Regions from separate parts of the Homo sapiens genome. Here region 2 is linked to region 1. The links are contacts of gene promoters, found by promoter capture Hi-C in blood cells and fetal thymus (Javierre and others, 2016). All regions are on one chromosome and are shown on one strand. The core of a region is centred on a gene start or on the middle of the fragment in contact, and the rest is flanking DNA. Distances in the headings are between cores, read along the strand shown.

What was found. The method cuts DNA at HindIII sites, captures the fragments that hold promoters and counts their contacts. A CHiCAGO score of 5 or more calls a contact.
Region 2: a contact is called between a fragment that was not itself captured here and the fragment with the promoter of C16orf54 in region 1, in 1 of 17 cell types (erythroblasts). The highest score is 7.3, in erythroblasts.

Annotation. Positions count from the first base shown.
Region 1 is chr16:29,743,842-29,749,693 of GRCh38, forward strand. C16orf54 (chromosome 16 open reading frame 54) reads right to left here and starts at 2,149. Exons shown (of 2, transcript NM_175900.4): 1 at 2,070-2,149; 2 at 1-1,110. The coding sequence starts at 1,110. The coding sequence ends at 436. It overlaps LOC124903673 (a long non-coding RNA gene), which reads left to right and starts at 1,406. Exons shown (of 2, transcript XR_007065046.1): 1 at 1,406-1,544; 2 at 4,135-5,801. RefSeq lists enhancers at 2,439-2,488, 3,016-3,085. The HindIII fragment of the contact is 10,190 bases long and covers 1-5,203 here.
Region 2 is chr16:29,900,007-29,906,310 of GRCh38, forward strand. It overlaps ASPHD1 (aspartate beta-hydroxylase domain containing 1), which reads left to right and starts at 482. Exons shown (of 3, transcript NM_181718.4): 1 at 482-1,914; 2 at 4,846-4,959; 3 at 5,782-6,050. The coding sequence starts at 966. The coding sequence ends at 5,891. RefSeq lists a silencer at 100-529 and an enhancer at 1,503-2,207. The HindIII fragment of the contact is 353 bases long and covers 2,093-2,445 here.

The sequences.
Region 1 (5,852 bases), core at 899-3,398:
TGGATTCCTGTCATCTCCTGCCAGCTGTCATCGCCACACCGAGGCTGTTCAGCACCGCAGGACCCGTTCTCTTTGGTATTGGTGGCTTCGGTAAACACTGAAAGAAGGTGGAGGTGGCTGGTCGATGCCATTTCCTGACTATCTAGTACCTTGGGTTCTTCATCTGGATGCGATCTTGAAGGCTTCTGGCCTGGCATTGGCTCCACCCCCAGGTCTCTGAGCCACAGCCCAGGTAGCTGAGCAGAGGCACTGCTGGGCTTCCCCTAGTCCACATAGCCTGGCCACCACCCAGACCCGGGGAGGGGGACTCCAGGTGGAAGGAGCCTGGGAAGGGCATCTTCGCTGGGGCAGTCTCAATCCTAATGCTGGATCCTGGGGTCCCCGGTCCCACTGAGGCAAGGCCTGCCTCGGGGATCTCTGGGGAACCCTGGGGATTCAGAACCCCACACTGGTCCGGCCTTCACGCTTCCAGAAAGCTGAGATCTGCTCCAAGGTGACCCGTGGCTGGAGGCCCCACTCAGGATCCGGGCTCCCTGGCCGCTGCCTCCTGGCCTGGGGGCTCCCAAACTGGACGCTGGCCTCTGGCCTCTGCTCGGGTTCAGCCCAGCTCACCAGGCCTGTGGCGGGGGGCCTCCCCTCCCAGGGCTGGGGCCCCCAGAAGGTGCTCCGGGCTGGGACCTCCAGTACGGTCTGGGGGCCCAAGTTGCTGGGAGCAGAATTTGGGGCTGAGGGGGCAGGTGGGGCTGTTGCTCGGGCCTCCAAAGTGCCCACCTGGGTGGGAGGCTCAGGGGCCCGATCTGTCAGCAGGGGGACCGCAGAGCCATACCAGTCCTCAGAGCGCTCTCGGGCGGTGCCCATGGGCTCAATCCACAGCTCTCCTCCTGGGCGCCACACCAGGGTGGGTGCACGGTGGCTGGGGTCTGGGCGGAGAGCACGGCGGAACAGGCGTTCAGCCAACACAGCGGTGGTGAGGATGAAGAGCGCAGCCAGGGTGGCCAGGACCAGCATGATGGGGATGCAGGGCCCACAGGGCAGTGAGGGCCATGGGGCTGCTTCCCATGCGGGGGGCCCCTCCACGCGCCCAGAGGGCGGCTCTGGAGTCAACGGCATCTGAGAGACACAGGGGTGAGAAGAGGAAGTAAATGAGGCAGAGGGGGCACAACCAAGATGAGAGAGAGGCAGCAGGTGTCCAGGAAAGCCTGGGAGAAGGGCTGGGCATGGGGGCTCATGCCTGGAATCCCAGCACTTTGAGAGGTCGAGGCGGGAGGATCACTTGAGCCCAGGAGTTCAAGACCAGCCTGGACACACAGTGAAACCTCATCTCTAAAAATAATTTAAAAACTAGCTGGGTGTGGTGGCTCACACCTGTAGTCCCAGCTACACAGGAAGCTGAGGTGGGAGGATTACTTGAGCCCAGGAGTTTGAAGCTGCAGTGACCCCAGATTGCACCACTGTCCTCCAGCCTGGGCAATAGAGCAAGACCCTTTCTCAAAAATGAAAAAGAACATTCTGGAGAGACAGAGAAGCAAGAGGGACCAGAAAGGGTAAGCGTGAGCCAGGTGGGGTGGGAGGACAGGCAGCCTACCTCGGGGCACAGCCAGGCCCTCCTGCCTGGCTCTCCAGGCCTTTCCAGAATCCCCATTTCCCTCCCAGACCCCAGGGTGCCTCAGACAAGAAAGGTCTCAAGGGCTTCTTTCCTCCCCACTCGGCCCCCTCAAGTCTTGCTCAGACCTAGAGAGGAAGTGGTGGGTGAAGAAATGAGAACCTCCCCTCCCACTGGCTCCCCTGCGTGTGTCTCCCCCACCGCCTGCCGCCAGCACCTCCGCTGGCCCCTTGAGGCTCCTTCGCCCCTCACCATTCTCCTCGGACTTGATCTTGCTCTCATAGGCTCCACGGAATCTGCTGCCGGGCCGGGCCGGGCCAGGCCTCCGGAGGCGCCTCTGCACCCCTCCTGGGCTCCCCAGCTTTGCCCAGGCTCTGGCCTGTCTCTATCTCTCGTTTGTCTCTGCACACCTCTCTGTCCCCCACATCCTCCATCTGCAGGGGGCCTCCTGCACCCCTCAACTCACCTTGGGTCAGTCCCTGGGCTCCTCTCCCTCCTAGAGCCACTCTTCCTGGTGCTGGACTAAGAGGTGCAGGCTTGGAGGGTGCAGGGCGGTCCGCCTCTCAGACGTAGAGGCCCGGCCTCGGATGAAGGCGGAAGGGAGGGCACCGCCTGTTGCTGGGCAACTGTGCCCCAACTCGTCTGCCCCTGGGGAGTGTTTGTTTCCAAAGCAACCCAAGGGGATGTGGTCACTGCGGTGAGGAGGCTTTTCCTGGGGTAAGGTGGGGCTGGAATGGGCAATGGTTCTGTTGAACTTAGTGTCACCCCATAGCCAGGCCCTGAGCCCCAGAACATTCACCGAAAAGCTGAGAAAGAGGACGCCGGGGCCAGGCACAGTGGCTCACCCCTGTAATCCCAGCATTTTGGGAGGTCAAGGTGGGCAAGTCACCTGAGGTCAGGAGTTCGAGACCAGCCTGCCAACATGGCGAAACCCCATCTCTACTGAAAAATACAAAAATTAGCTGGGCATGGTGACGGGCACTTGTAATCTCAGCTGCTCAGGCGGCTGAGGCAGGGAGAATCGCTTGAACCCGGGACTCGGAGGTTGCAGTGAGCTGAGATCGTGCCACCACACTCCAGCCTGGGCAACAGAGTGAGACTCCGTCTTAAAAAAAAAGAAAAGAAAAGAAAAGAAAAAGAAATAGGACACTGGGACTTTAGCCCGTACATTCCCAGAGAACCATGGTGCCTCCCCCGTTCCTCCTGGGAGGATGCCCCACCCCATCCTGCCTTGTCTTATCCACGGTGCCTCCCCAGATCTGCTCCTGCCATGCAGCCCCCACAGGCACCCCCTGCTTGGCCAGCTTGCTTCACACCTTTTTTTTTTTTTTCTGGTAGAGATGGGCTCTTGCTATGTTGCCCAGGCTGGTCTCAAGCTCCTGGCCTCAAGAGATCCTCCTGCCTCAGCCTCCCAAAGTGCTGGGATTACAGGTGTGAGCTACCACACTGGCCCCTGCCTCATACTTTTAATTAACATAAGTCTCTCTCTCTTCAGACCATTTAGCCCCCATTTTGGTTGGAAAATATCAGTGAGGTGAGGCTTGGGTAACAAAAATGTCAAGCCTCTGAGAGGAGTCCAGGGTATAAAAACAGGCGTGGGCCTGTTTCCAAAACCCTGACCATCCTCATGTCTGTCCCTCTTTCCTGCTGCTGAGGGTGGGAGGAGCCTGGAGCAGAGTGTGACAAGATGTCATCAGGCTCTGGAGTCCAGGTGACTTTCTGAGATTCTCTAGTTTGACTCATCCACAGATGACAAAAGTAAGGCTTAAAGAAAAGAGATTTCATGACCAAAGTCGCATGACCAATGTATGTGTGGGTGAGCATGTAGTGGCCAGGGTGGTGGAAGAATAGATAGAAATCCCTGGGCTGGGCGAGGTGGCTCATGCCTGTAATCCCAGCACTTTGGGAGACCGAGGCGGGTGGATCACCTGAGGTCAGGAGTTTGGGAGCAGCCTGGCCAACATGGCAAAACCCCGTCTCTACTAAAAATACAAAAATTAGCCGGGCGTGGTGCCGCACGCCTATGACCCCAACTACTCAGGAGGCTGAGGCAGGAGAATCGCTTGAACCCGGTGCAGTGAGCCGAGATCGTGCCATTCCACTCCAGCCTGGGCAACAGAGCGAGACTCTGTCTCAAAATAAATAAATTAAATAAATAAATGAATGAAAAGACAGTCTCCGTCAGACTGCCCCATCCTGGTGGTTTTGAGCCCTGCTGGGAGGAGCTGGAGATGGAGAGTCCGGGGGAAACCGCCTTTGCAAAGAAAGAGATCTAACTTAACTGACTCCACCTTGCTTCTAACCTCCAAGCTGTCTTTGTTTATTCCTGGGCGTAGGCTGAACTAACTTTGGGAGAAACTTAGTTTGTAGTTTATAGTTTAAACAAAGACAGTAACAGCCCTTTCCCAAAGCAGACCTTCTTGCCTGGGGACTAGACTAACACTAGCCATAGGATTAGAAATTATGGTTTAGGAGTCATGCAGCTGGAGGCTACAAGATTCTGACCCTCCCTAAACTGCTCCTAACATCAGTGCTTGAGATATTTTGCAGACCCTGCACTTGATGGATCAGCTGGCACCACCCAGATCAATAAACTGGCTCATCTGATCTTGTGGCCCCCACCCAGAACTGACTCTGCAAGAAGACAGCTCTGACTCCTGATGATTTCATCTCTGACCAATCTGCACTCCCAGATCCCAGCACTTTGGGAGGACCAGACAGGCAGATCACAAGGTCAGGATGAGAGGTGACAGCGTGCTGGCAGCCCTCACTCACTCTGGGCGCCTCCTCGGCCTCCACGCCAACTCTCCCTGCGCTTGAGGAGCCCTTCAGCCCGCCGCTGCACTGTGGGAGCCCCTCTCTGGGCTGGCCGAGGCGGGAGCCCGCTCCCTCTGCTTGCCAGAGGTGTGGAGGGAGAGGCGCGGACGGGAACTGGGGCTGCGGGCCACGCTCGAGGGCCAGCATGAGTTCCGGGTGGGCGTGGGCTCGGTGGGCCCCGCACTCAGAGAGGCCGGCTGGCGCCATTGGCCCCAGGCAGTGAGGGGCTTAGCACCCAGACCAGCAGCTGCAGAGGGTGCGCCAGGTCCCCCAGCAGTGCCAGCCCACAGGTGCACTTGAATTCTCGCAGGCCTCAGCTGCCTCCCCACGGGGCAGGGCTTGGGACCTGCAGCCCGCCATGCCCAAGCGTCCCCCTGCCTGGGCTCCTGCACCGCCCCCTGCTCTGCGGGGCCTGGTCCCATCAACCGCCCAAGGGCTGAGGAGTGCAGGCACAGGATTGGTGGGCAGCTCCACCTGCAGCCCAGGTGCTAGGTCCACTAGGTGAAGCCAGCTGGGCTCTTGAGTCTAGTGGGCACTTGGAGAACCTTTATGTCTAGCTAAGGGATTGTAAATACACCAATCAGCACTCTGTGTCTAGCTCAAGGTTTGTAAACACACCAATCAGCACCCTGTCAAAATGGACCAATCAGCTCTCTATAAAACAGACCAGTTGGCTCTCTGTAAAATGGGCCAATCAGCAGGATGTGGGTGGGGCCAGATAAGGCAATAAAAGCAGGCTGCCAGAGCCAGCAGTGGCAACTCGGCGTACCCTTCCACATAGGAAGCTTTGTTCTTTTGATCTTTCCAATAAATCTTGCTGCTGCTTATCCTGGGTCTGCACTGCCTTTATGAGCTGTAACATCGTGAAGGTCTGCAGCTTCACGCCAGAGGCCAGCGAGACCACGAACCCACCAGAAGGAAGAAACTCGGAACACGTCCGAACATCAGAAGGAACAAACTCCGGACATGCCGCCTTTAAGAACTGAAACACTCACCGTGAGGGTCCGCAGCTTCATTCTTGAAGTCAGTGAGACCAAGAACCCGCCAATTCTGGACACAAGGAGATCGAGACCATCCTGGCTAACACGGTGAAACCCCATCTCTACTAAAAATACAAAAAATTTATTAGGCGTGTTGGCGGATGCCTGTAGTCCCAGCTAGTCCCAGCTACTCCCAGCTACTTGGGAGGCTGAGGCGGGAGAATGGCATGAACCTGGGAGGCGGAGCTTGCAGTGAGCCGAGATTGCGCCACTGCCCTCAAGCCTGGGCGACAGAGCAAGACTCCATCTCAAAAAAACAAAACAAAAACAAACAAAAAAACCCTCTGTTTCCCGAATGCTCAGGGAGACTGATTTGAGTAATAATAAAACTCCTGGCTGGACACAGTGGCTCACGCCTGTAATTTCAGCAATTTGGGAGGCCAAGGCCGGTG
Region 2 (6,304 bases), core at 1,019-3,518, 160 kb after region 1:
TCTTCCATAAACCCTGACCCCGGCCAGCTAACAGGCGGCCTCGGCTCTGATTTTCCCTCCGGAGCGCCCTTTTCAGCACCAGCGGCGCGCGGACAGCTCCCCTCGCCCCGCCGGGGCGGGCCCGGCCCGACGCCGCCCGCGATTGGCTGAGGCCGCTTTCGGTGTTTGCCAGGCTCGCGGGCTCCCGGGCTGCCTAGGGCCAGCGGGAGTCACAGGCCGACCGACCGACGGACCAGCCGCCCGACGGACTGGCCTCAGCATCCTTGCCCGCAGTCCCGGGCGCCTGCCCAGCCGTCAGTCCGCGCTCGCCCCGCCCCTCAGGCCCCGCCCCTCAGGCCCCGCCCGATACGACCCGCCCCTTCTTTCGCATTGCGGGACGGCTGGAGGCTGGCACCGTGGCCCCTGCGCCCCACGTGGCGCCCTTTCCGGGCGGGGGGGGTGGGGAGGCACCTCCAGCGACAACTCTCCCCCCTCCCCCGGCACCCGGCTGATTTGCTGTGCCACTGGGAGGGTTCGGGGGTGGCTGAGCTGAGAGGGCTCCGGGAAGGAGTGACGTCAGGGTGAGTGGGAGCCCAGGAAGGAGCGAGTAGGAGAGAGGGAGCGAGAGCCAGGCAGGACCGCAGGGTCGGGGCTAGTGAGGAGCGAGGGCAAGGAGAGAGCAGTGAGGCCGGAGAGAAAGAAGCTGCCGCGGAGGAAGACAGGCTGCGGGTTCCCGGGACTGCAGGTCCAGGCAGGGTAGGAACCGCTGCCCAGGGGAGCTAGGAGGAAGCGGGGAGAGAGAGCGAGCGAAAAGCGGGGGTGGGGAGGAAAGGGGGAGATTGAGGTGGGAGAGAGAAGCAGAGCGAGAGAGAGGAGGCTGCTGGAAGGAGAAAGAAGAGGGTGAGGAGGCGACAGAGGGAGAGGAGGAAGAAGAGGTAGAAGGAGAGAGAAAGGGGAGAGAAAGGAGAGAGGAGGGTTGGAGGTGCATGAAGGAGGGGAGAGGGAGCTTCAGCGTGGAGAGAGGACCGCGGAAGGAGAGAGAGACAGCCCAGAGTGGAATGTGGAAGGGAAACAGTCCAGCGGGGAGCCAGGGGGCAGCCATGGAAGGGACAGGTGGGGAGCTGGGGGGACAGGGGAACTGGGGTCCGGAGGACGCCCCAGGCCTCTTGGCCAGGGCCTCCCTGATCATGCTCCCGTGGCCACTACCCCTGGCCTCCTCGGCCCTCACCTTGCTCTTCGGGGCCCTCACTTCCCTGTTCCTCTGGTACTGCTACCGCCTGGGCTCCCAAGACATGCAGGCCCTAGGGGCTGGGAGCCGAGCTGGGGGTGTTCGTGGTGGGCCTGTGGGATGCTCGGAGGCCGGCGGGCCAAGCCCAGGGGGTCCTGGGGATCCCGGGGAAGGACCTAGGACGGAAGGCCTAGTGAGCCGGCGGCTTCGGGCCTACGCAAGGCGCTACTCCTGGGCTGGGATGGGTAGAGTGAGGCGGGCAGCTCAGGGTGGCCCAGGCCCTGGGAGAGGGCCAGGGGTCCTAGGTATTCAGCGCCCAGGCCTGCTTTTCCTACCAGACCTGCCTTCAGCCCCCTTTGTGCCGCGGGACGCCCAGCGGCACGACGTGGAGCTCCTGGAGAGCAGCTTCCCTGCCATTTTGCGGGACTTCGGGGCTGTGAGCTGGGACTTCTCAGGGACTACCCCTCCGCCTCGGGGCTGGTCCCCACCTCTGGCCCCCGGGTGCTACCAGCTCCTGCTGTACCAAGCAGGCCGGTGCCAACCCAGCAACTGCCGCCGGTGCCCGGGGGCCTATCGGGCACTGAGGGGGCTTCGAAGCTTTATGAGTGCCAACACCTTCGGCAATGCCGGCTTTTCCGTTCTCCTGCCTGGGGCCCGGCTCGAGGGCCGCTGTGGGCCCACCAATGCCCGGGTCAGATGCCATCTGGGTAAGTAGCTGCCGCCTACTGACAACCTCCTTGCCTCGATGATTTCCCCCCCAGACCCTTCTCTCCGCCAGAGCCGTCTGCTGTCTGGTTCTCATTGTGCCTCTCTTCTTCCATGGCTCCCTGTTGCCACCCACAGCAGCATTTCCTCAGCCTCGGTTATCTGCACACCACCTTCATAAGCTTTGCCGTGGTCATTCCCATCTGTACTGCGTTTCTTCACCTTGGCTCTCCCCCCGACCTTTTGTTCTACGTATTTAAAAGAAATATTTATAGCACTATCAGTATTACTTGCCCTAAATAGTACTCATAAAAAGCCTGGACAACACAGTGAGACCTTGTCTCTACAAATAATAAAACAATTAGCCGGGCGCGGTGGCCCATGCCTATGGTCCCAGCTACTGGAGAGGGTGAGGTGGGAGGTTCACTGGAGCTCAGCAGTTTGAGGCTGCAGTGAGCTGAGATTGTGCTACTGCACTCCAGCCTGGGTGACAAGAAAGTACTCATAAACACAAGCTGAAATTTAAAAAAGAAAGCTTTCAACAGTCTAGAACATTCTAGTTAAGTGCTCTAGTCTCTCTGATCCTGAAGCCTACACTTTTTTCTTTTTTGAGGAGTCTCGCTCTGTCGCCCAGGCGAGAGTGCAGTGGCACGATCTTGGCTCACTGCAAGCTCCACCTCCCGGGTTCATACCATTCTCCTGCCTCAGCCTCCCGAGTATCTGGGACTACAGGCACCTGCCACTACACCTGGCTAATTTTTTTTTATTTTGTATTTTTAGTGAAGACAGGGTTTCACCATGTTAGCCAGGATGGTCTCCATCTCCTGACCTCGTGATCAATCCGCCTCGGCCTCCCAAAGTGCTGGGATTACAGGCATGAGCCACCGTGCCTAGCCCTACACCTTCTTTTTTAAAAGGGTTGGTGGGGTGTCAAAGTTACAGTAGCACCAAACTGAGATTTTTTCTTTTTCTTTTTTTTTTTTTTTTGAGACAGGGTCTCACTCTGTCACCCAGGCTGGAGTGCAGTGGCACAAACATGGCTCACTACAGCCTTAACCTCCTGAGATCAAAGGATCCTCTCACCTCAGCCTCCTGAGTAGCTGGGACCACAGGTGCCCACCACCATGCTTGGCTGATTTTTTAAAAATTTACGTAGGCCAGGCGCGGTGGCTCACGCCTGTAATCCCAGCACTTTGGGAGGCTGAGGCAGGCGGATCACCTGAGGCTGGGAGTTCGAGACCAGCTGACCAACATGGAGAAATCCTGTCTCTACTAAAATTACAGAAAATTAGCTGGGTGTGGTGTCGCATGCCTGTAATCCCAGCTACTCGGGAGGCCGAGGCAGGAGAATCACTTGAACTCGGGAGGCGGAGGTTGCAGTGAGCCGAGATCACAACATTGCACTCCAGCCTGGGCAACAAGAGCGAAACTTCATCTCAAAAACAAGAAAAAAAAATTGTGTAAAGACAGGCTGGACCTGAACTCCTGAACTCAAGTGATCCTCCTGCCTTGGCCTCCCAAAGTGCTGAGATTACAGGCGTGAGCCACCGCACCTGGCACTTTTTGATGTCTTAAAGACTGGAAGAAAATGGAAAAGGAAATAATTTTCTGTTATTCCATGCCATGACCTTGTTTTGCCCCCAATCATCTCCTGTGCTGCCAGCTGGATGTGTCCTACACTTCAGGGCACACTAGCCTCAGGATCAGTTCCCAATCCTTCCTCTCTTCCCTCTCTCTGTGCTCTAAATCATGAAAACCTTCTGGCCAATCCTGACAGATGCCACATGTGCTGTTCTTTTCAACCTAGAATCCCCTTCCCCCGTACCACCTCCTGAAAAACTCCTACTCAGCCTTCAGTACTCAAGTTTTCAAGTGCCACACTTCCTCTGGGTTGGCTTCCTGTTCCCCCATCAGTTGAGTTGGCTGCTCACTTTCCTCACAGCACTCAGCCATGTGGTCCTTGGGCCAGGAACGTCTTTAATCTTATACCTCTCAGTGAGACAGCGCCTATCACACAGTAAGCTCTTGAGTCAAACTGTCGAAAGCCCAGGAGGAAAAGCCATTTCCTCCAGGAAGCCTTCTCTTTTCTCGAAATGAGAGGTTGCTGCCAGGTGCCGTGGCTCATCCCTGAAATACCAGCACTTTGGGAGGCCAAAGCAGGAGGATTGCTTGAGGCCAGGAGTTCAAGACCAGCACTGTCTGTATAAGAATAAAATAAAATAAAATAAAATAAAATAACGGGTCTGGCCAGGTGCAGTGGCTCACACCTGTAATCCCAGCATTTTGGGAGGCTGAGGTAGGCAGATCACTTGAGCTCAGGGGTTCGAGACCAGCCTGGCCAACATGGCGAAACCCCATCTCTACTAAAAATACAAAAATTAGCCAGGCGTGGTGGCAGGCAGCTGTAATCCTAGCTACTCGGGAGGCTGAGGCAGGAGAATTGCTTGAACCTGGGAGGCGGAGGTTGCAGTGAGCCAAGATCATGCCACTGCACTCCAACCTGGCGACAGAGCAAGACTACATCTCAAAAAAAAAAACAAAACAAAAAATTAACCCTGCATTGTAGCACATGCCTGTAATCCCAGCAGCTACTCAGGAGGCTGAGACACGAGAATCACTTGAACCTGGGAAGCAGAGTGAGCTGAGATCACACCACTCCACTCCAGCCTGGGTGAGAGAGTGAGACTTTGTCTCAAAAAAAAAAAAAAAAAAAAGATGGGTCACACTACCCACAGCAGCGTTTCCCTAATCTCCTAGCACTTCCCTCCTCCAGGACTGTATTGTAATTATACTGTGGCCACTTTCTGGAAAGAAAGGAGGATGACCACAAAACCTGGCATTTAAGACACTTAGAGCTAGTTGCTAATTGACTGGCCAGGATGGGCCCCTGGGATGGAGGCAGGAGTGCTGGATGCCCGCGTCTCTTCTTACAGGCCTAAAGATCCCTCCTGGCTGTGAGCTGGTGGTCGGCGGTGAGCCCCAGTGCTGGGCTGAGGGGCACTGTCTACTGGTGGACGACTCTTTTCTACACACAGTGGCTCACAATGGTAACGGGGTGCCCATTCTGCAGGGGGGATGAGGGACTCAGGAGCAAAGGAGCGTTGACTAGAAGGCAGCAGAATCAGGCCCAACGGACTTCCTGTCCTACCACCACCATCTTCCAGCTGCATGACCTTGAACAAGCCGCATAACTTCTCCAATGCCCTAGGACCACCACCTTCTTCATCAAGTAACTGCAAGGATTAAATGAGATAATATTACGTACACAGAAAAGCGGTTACCAGCACAGGACTCTGGGTTCCTGTCCTACCTCTTGCACTTGGGCAAAGGACTTAACCTCCTTATGCCTCTGTTGCTTTGTATAAAATAGGGATAATTATGGTAATACCACAGTTTGTTTTGATGATTAAGAGTTGATACATATCGGCCGGGCATGGTGGCTCACGCCTGTAATCCCAGCACTTTGGGAGGCTGAGGTGGGCGGATCACCTGAGGCCAGGAGTTCGAGACCAGCCTGGCCAACATGGTGAAACCCCGTCTCTATTAAACATACAAAGAAATTACCCAGGTGTGGTGATGAGCACCTGAAATCCCAGCTACTAGGGAGACTGAGGCAGGAGAATTGCTTGAACCTGGGAGGCCAAGGTTGCAGTGAGCCGAAATTGCGCCACTGCACTCCAGCCTGGTGACAGAGCAAGACTCCATCTCAGGAAAAAAAAAAAAAAAAAAAAAAAAGATTTGATACATTTAAAGGGTTAGAACAAGGCCTGCCACTTATTTACTGTTTGCTTTTATGGTGTTTGGTGAGTGCTCTGGTGTGCAAGTACCTAATGTCAGTGGCTCTGCTGTTCCTGTCCCATGTGCCCTAGGCTCCCCCGAAGATGGGCCTCGAGTGGTCTTCATCGTGGACCTCTGGCACCCCAACGTGGCAGGGGCTGAGCGCCAGGCCCTCGACTTTGTCTTCGCCCCAGACCCTTGAAGGAAGGTGCTCCCTTCACACACCCAGGCTGGAGAGACACTGCGCTCAGGGACGGCTTGATGGTAGCCAGGACCTCCTCTCTACTGCGGGGGTGGGCGGGGGCGGAGGATGGGAACTGGCTAGTGAGCACTGAAATATAAATTCTGAATCCTCTCCTAACTCCCGACTACTTCCTTCGCAGGGAGAGGCTGGGGCAGGGCCTTATGTCTTCTCCTAGTACAACCAAACAGGTACCTCCTTTTTTTTCTTTCTTTTTTTTTTTTTTTTGTAGAGTCAGGGTCTTGCTTTGTTGCCCAGGCTGGTCTTGAACTCCTGGGCTCAAGTGATCCTTCTGCCTCAACCTCCTGAGTAGTTGGGATTACACGTGTGAGCCACCACGCCCGGCCAGATACCTCCTAACACAGGCATCTCCC